Linked DNA regions of Homo sapiens: region 1 is linked to region 2. Evidence: promoter capture Hi-C in 16 types of primary human blood cells and fetal thymus (Javierre and others, 2016). All regions are on one chromosome and are shown on one strand. Each heading gives the region's core, a stretch centred on a gene start or on the middle of the fragment in contact. The rest is flanking DNA. Distances are from core to core; before and after follow the strand shown. Region 1 has its middle 5.4 kb from the start of AK5. Region 2 holds the start of RABGGTB (Rab geranylgeranyltransferase subunit beta).

Evidence for each region. The method cuts DNA at HindIII sites, captures the fragments that hold promoters and counts their contacts. A CHiCAGO score of 5 or more calls a contact.
Region 1: a fragment that was not itself captured here is called in contact with the fragment with the promoter of RABGGTB in region 2 in 1 of 17 cell types (M1 macrophages); the score reaches 5.9 in M1 macrophages.

The regions. Positions count from the first base shown.
Region 1 is chr1:77,274,881-77,278,283 of GRCh38, reverse strand. No RefSeq gene overlaps it. Among named protein-coding and RNA genes, the nearest start is that of AK5, 5.4 kb to the left of the region's middle. The HindIII fragment of the contact is 1,585 bases long and covers 820-2,404 here.
Region 2 is chr1:75,784,693-75,787,973 of GRCh38, reverse strand. RABGGTB (Rab geranylgeranyltransferase subunit beta) reads right to left here and starts at 1,718. Exons shown (of 9, transcript NM_004582.4): 1 at 1,700-1,718; 2 at 370-477. The coding sequence starts at 1,702. It overlaps SNORD45C (small nucleolar RNA, C/D box 45C), which reads right to left and starts at 902; the gene lies at 825-902. SNORD45A (small nucleolar RNA, C/D box 45A) reads right to left here and starts at 85; the gene lies at 2-85. RefSeq lists a silencer at 1,627-1,686 and enhancers at 1,747-1,976, 2,917-3,136. The HindIII fragment of the contact is 7,492 bases long and covers 988-3,281 here.

The DNA.
Region 1 (3,403 bases), core at 363-2,862, 1.5 Mb before region 2:
AGGCTTCTCTGTCTGCTGGTTTAGGTATATGTAAGAGAGAAAAGGTAGGAGTGGGGAGAACACTTGGAAGGCTATTGTGACTCAGGTGTGAGGTGACGAAGGCATGGACTCAAATATTGGCAGCAGAGACAATGAGAACTGGTTAAATCCTAGATATATTTTGAAGATAGAACAAATAGGGTTTCTTGACAGCTTGGATGTAGTATATGAGAGAAAAAGAAATCCTCAAGTATGACTTCATGGTTTTTGGCCTGAGGATAGTGTGGAGACAATTAATTGGCCTCAAGAGGCTTACTAACTTACAAAATTATTTAATAGTTAGATGGTAAAGAACTCTATGCAACCCAGAGAAGCAACAGGACAACTGGCTCTGAAGGGAGTCTGGCAGATGGTAGGTTCTCCCTACTGCTTACTGACCGTATTTCTTCATTTTCATCTGCAACCCTTGGCTTATAGCAGCCATTTGAGCTCTAAAGGTAACCTACATGTTAGGTTGACTCACACATTGTACAACCTCTGTGCAAGTGGAAGAGGGGAATTTACACTTGCTTCAGGATATGCTTTCAACTTAAATGTTTTAGAACTTCAATGTCCATTCTGCACGAATATTTTACCTGCCCATGCGAAATCTGTAATTCCATCAAATCTAGTCTTCATCCATCAACCAGTAATCCTAACTTGGCTATGATAGATATAAATAAGGGAGCAACTTGAACTCCAAAGACCCTCTAAGTTTCAAAGCTGCAGGTAAAATACAGAGAGAAACATTATTGTTTTGATTTAAAGAAATATTCTAACATATGCTTAGAACTAAAAGCTTTTGGAGGTCTTAGAGAAAAACGAACAGATCATTTTTAACAGATTATTTTTTAAAACAGATTTTTAAAAATTTGTTTTCACAGAATGCAAATAACACATTTAAGTTTTTATTATATTATTATTTTTATCATTATTGACAAGCAGCAATTCTGTTGAGCCTAGAGGCCTAAAATTTCTAAGTCATACATATGTATCAGGACCAGTATGCCCTTCTGAGTTGTTTACATTGCTTATTTTTGTCTTTACTATATGTCTCATGAACAATGTATTAGTGTTGCATACACTAATCAGCCGAGGATGAGTAAGATAAAATCTTTCCATCCAAGGAATAAAATGTGTTTTTTCTCAGTAGTCACAAGGCATTCATGTTGGTGTGCTGGAAAATTTTAAAACTTACCAGAATTTACCATCTGTTCCTGTTTTTAGCTAGTCTGTTTAACCACGTTTCTTCTATTAATTGTCCTTCTGCAATACAATTAACATTTACACTGTTTTTCTAATCAGATGAAATCATAAAATTAAAGATCTATTGGAGATATATGAGTAGTGATTAAGTTAAAGAGGTCCCTTCCCCAAATAAATCAACATTTTAGATTGTGCAGAGGAAAACTAATACCAAAACATTTCTCCAAGAATGTCCCTCTCTTGTGCAAAAATGTTGAGTGGCCACCATTTTCTTCACCATCCATTATGGTACTCACTAGCGTCACATGGCTATTTACACTTAAATATTAGATTGGTGCAAAAGTAATTGCAGTTTTTGCCATTTGCAATTATTTTTAATGGCAAAAACTGCATTTACTTTTGCACCAACCTGACAAATACAATTAGTTTCCTGTTTTGTACTTAGTCAAATATTTCCATACCTCCAAGGCTCCATTTAAAGACAACCTTCTCTCTAAAAGCCATCTTTATTTAGCCCTAATGGATTTAAGTGATTTCTTCCTTTATCCTCTTTAGAATGTTACTTGTACCTCTATCCTGCCTTCTTCCTTATTTATGTACCTTTGTTTTTCTCATCTGCCTTGACCCAAAAATGTGTCTTCATGGTTTACCCTTATGCAGTTTATCATGTACATAATAAATACTCTAAAATTATGATTTGAATAATTTATAATACATTTAAATATTACTTCTGTTTTGTGAGCATATGCAGCCCCATTGCTTGATGTGCTTTGAATTTGTAAATGTATTTGCTCCGTTATTTTCTAGGGTTATCATTTTCAAATTCTATCAACATTAACTAATCTTGAGATGTCGGGGAAAAGAAGACTAATTGCAGCAAGTTATAGACCCAAGTTTCTCTATTCATGACTATGATTTGTGCTCGAGTATTTGAATTGCCTTCATGATTATCTCTCATGCCTGTAGCTAACAAACAGGATGCAATTTAAATCAAACAAATAGAGTGTCTACTAATCCCTGATAATTGGTGCTAGGTGTCCTTCCCATCCAGCTGTCCCTGGTCACCAGTTTTACAGAATCGCAATCATTAGGACAGAAAAAGATTGTTATGAGCTTGTTCGTGCCGTTTCTAAAAACTAGCCTGTTGTTACACTTCCATTATTTGGATCAAAACAAAGCTTCTCATCAGTTAATCTATTTTCAAATTACAAGCTCCAAATAGATTCTCAGAGGTCATTAATCATCTCACCTCCAGAAAATACAACACAAGCCCATGGCATATTCCTTTTAAGGAAATGTTGTATTGTGTTCCTCTTGTCTTCCACAATATTCTTGTTTGTAATTTTCAGAAATTGGAAGGTGATATTTGTTAAGATTATTTCATGCTAATGAAATGTTGGAAGTCTCAATGTTGGAACTACTTTTGATGCAGACATTTTTGCTCCTTAGTTCAGCTAAAACGAGGTTCTTGTCCTGCAACCAGGAAAGATTAGGCATGCAGACACATTGAAAGGTGAGGAGAGCAGAATTTATTAAAAGAAAGCTCTCAGCAAAAAAAGAAGAGGTCCTGCTAATAGGCTCCCACCTCACAGATTGAACAGAACGCCAGGCCACCACCCATGGGCTGAAGAGGCCAGGCTCCTCCCTGCTGCGCAAGGAACGAATTCCTGTGGCTCCACCCCATCCCCCCAGTGCTCATGTGGGCACTATTCAGAAAGAATTAGTTGAGAAAGGGTGGGTAAACAGGGGCAGTTCTCCCTCTGGGTCTGGGTTTCATCTGGGACCAGCAGTCTGCTCTGTCAGCCTTCAGGCTGTTTTAGGCTTGAAGGTGGGATTTCGCCGGGGATCCTTGGTTATCTCCTGTCTCTGTCACTTTTATGAAAGCAGAAGAGAAGTTTTTGTATATCTCTGTTATCCTGAGCACCCACTTTCAAAAGAAGGTGTTTCCTAACATGGCCCTGGTGGCTTCATGGGGACAATCACCCTGGCATTTCATATCTACAATTTGATAAGAGTAAAAGGAAAAAGTATTCTTATGCTCAGTCTGAAGTATTCATTAAATACTTTTTAAATGTATTCTAAACACCTTTCAACTCATCTATCTTATAGTTACACCAATGGCCTCTCAGAAGGCGACGTTTTTACCTGTTTATCTTCAGCCTTGGCTTTTCTGTGCTCC
Region 2 (3,281 bases), core at 469-2,968:
CAAGGTCTCAGAGTAATTCTAGAGCTAAAGTGTTATTACACATCAGCAATAGATTCAGATAATACATGCCAACACATCATTGACCTTGAAAGTATTACCCCTAACTACAAAAAGAGAAACCCGTTTTGTACCTCAAACCCTCATCTACTTTGTCTGGCAAGCCCTCTCAGTATAGGTAAAAACTGAGATTCTAATAAGCCCACAGCCTCAGACGTCCAAAGCACACTTAACTGAAGTTCAAAGGCACAGCACATCCTCAGTTCTCTGCATGGAGTTGGATGCCATTTTAAGACATAAATACTGTCTCACTGCTTATGACTGTCACACTTCTTTAAAATAAACTTTCCAACATAAAAAAATTATACATACATAATCATCTTTCTTTGAGCCATAGGATGCGATATAATCTGCATGTTTCTCCAATAACAAAGTGTCCGGTGCATCTGACTTGATAATAACATCCTTCTGTGGAGTGCCCTTTCAAAATAAAGTGGTAATCTCATCAATGTTTACCTCTACAACGTTCTTCTGCCCCACAGCATAGATTCAACATACATCTCAATTTTCACTTGATTTCATCTTGTAATAGGAAAACGTTCCATTTAAAAATTGTAACTAACTAGGGAGGCTGAGGTAGAAGATCGCTTGAGCCAGGGAAATTAAGGCTGCAGTGAACTGAGGTTGTGTCACTGCACTCCATCCTGGGCGACCGGAGACCGACTCAAAAACAAAACCAAAACAACAACAACAACAACAAATTGTATCCAACAAAAAAGAACTTAAATCATTCAGGCTTCGTCTTAGTCACGATTCAGGTAATTTTCAGGTCTCAGAGTAATTCTAGAGCTAAAGTAGTAATAATCAACTTTAGATTCAGAATACATGCCAACTCATCATTGACCCAAAAAATTACCACCAGCATTTCTTGTTGTTCACTTTTCATTCAAAAAGATAAGTAAAAAATAAACACCATAGAATATCAAAGCTTATCATTTCAGGACAACTTACGGTTTACATGTGGCAGAAAGCATATTTTTAAAAAATAAAAAAATCTAACCCTTAACTTGCAAGCGAATTCTTGCTTAATCAAATGCAGGTTTCAAAGCACCTTCTAAGTACCCCAAAAGTTGTTCAAATGTATTAAATAAGCAGTTCCTTTAGCTCCATCTTCTCCACCTTTAATCCGAGTCTCTGTATTTGCAGAAGTCCCCATGTGATGCGGCTCTAGTTCTTTTCGTATCTATATCTTCCTCATTGAGAGTACACTGCAGTCACTATAACAGGTCATGAAGATTACCGGAAGTGATTAAGTACCGAATTTTCTTCTGATCCCATTAAAAATCTTAAAGCGAGACCACATCACTAACGATTTTAAAGAAATCTTTGACACCCCCTCTCCAAGAAAAAAAAAAGCCACCAATCAGCCACAGCTTTTTAGAGGGGTTCAGAAATCGGGCTGCTCAACTCTTAACAGGCCCTCCCTACAGAAGAAGGCCTGGATAAAATTAGAAGCGGCATTGCCCGCGAGGTCTGCAGAAAACGCTGAGTAATATTTCACACTCAAAAAACCTTCCAAGGCCTGTGTCCTAACCATTCTCCAGCACCAGGAAACCAATCCTAAGGTGACCAGTGTGCTTAACCCTACTCCACCCTGTCTGCTACCAACCCATCCGGACAGCAGCGCTAAACTCACACTTACCATGTCTAACAGGGAAAGGAGAGAGCAGGGTCAGTTCCTGGGTAGACTTAGGAGCCGGGCGCCTGCGCAGATGCGCCTCTCAGGCCCCCATCGCGCTCCGATATAGCTGACCACACTTTCGCCTGCAAGGCAGAGCAGTTCCACGGCTGCCGTAGGACCCCACTGATCGCTCATAGGTGTCCTCACTGCCTGCGTCCAAAGTCCTGCGACCATATGCTTGTCCCATAGTCACTCCGATTTGTCTAGAAACAGTTTTAAATAATATTTAAATATCTGAGTTGCTTTTAAGAAATCATTTGTTCTAGCTGGACGCGGTGGCTTACGCCTGTAATCCCAGCACTTTGGGAAGCCGGACAGCAGGATTGCTTGATCCTAGGAGTGTAACCACCCAATATTGTGGTTCACTTTGCCTGCTGCTGACCGATAGCCCATTTATCAAGACAGGGGACTTGCAATGGAGTCTCCCCAAGCAGTATTCAGAGTTTTTAAAGATAATTCGGCGATTAGGGGCTTGGGAAGTAGGGAGTGCTGATGGGTCAGGTTGGAGATGGACTCATAGTGGGTAGACGTGAGTTTTTCTTGCTGTTTTCTGTTCCTGGGTAGGATGGCAGAACTGGTTGAGCCAAATTACCAATCTGGGTGGTTTCAACTGATCCATGGAGAGCAGGGTCTGCAAAATATCTCAAGAACTTATCTTAGGTTTTACAATAGTGATGTTATCCCCAGGAGCAATTTGGGGAGGTTCAGAAACTTGGAGCCAGAGGCTGCATGACCTCTAAACTGTAATTTCTAATCTTGTAGCTAATCTGTTGGTTCTGCAAAGGCAGACTGGTCCCCAGGCAAAAAAGCGGTCTTTTTGGGAAAGGGATATTATCAATTTTGTTTCAGAGTCAAACCATAAACTGAATTCCTCCCTAAATTGGTTCAGCCTAGGCTCAGGAATGAAGAAGGACAGCTTAAAAGTTAGAAGCGGCCGGTGGCTCACGCCTGTAATCCCAGCACTTTGGGAGGCCAAGGCGGGCGGATCACGAGGTCAGGGGATCGAGACCATCCTGGCTAAAACCCCGTCTCTACTACAAATACAAAAAATTAGCCGGGCGTGGGGGTGGGCGCCTGTAGTCCCATCTACTCCTGAGGTTGAGGCAGGAGAATGGCTTAAACCCGGGAGGCGGAGCTTGCAGTGAGCAGAGATCACGCCACTGCACTCCACCCTGGGCGACAGAGCGAGACTAGTCTCAAAAACAAAAGTTAGAAGCAAGATGGAATCCGTTAGGTCTGATTTCTTTCACTGCCATAATTTCCTCAGTTATAATTTTGCAAAGGCGGTTCCAGGAGATCCAGACCAGCCTGGGCAATGTTGCAAGACCCCCGTCTCTACAAATAATAAAAATATGAGCCAGACGTGGTTGCCCAAGCCTGTGGTTTCAGCTACTGGGGAAGCTGAGGTGAGAGAATTACTTGAGCTGTGGGGCAGGGGGTGGAGGCTACAGTGAGCGGTGATAATGCCACTGCACTGCAGGGTGTGAGACAGAACGAGACCATGTCTCAAAAAAATAAATCATTTGTTCTTGAGGCCCTTTGC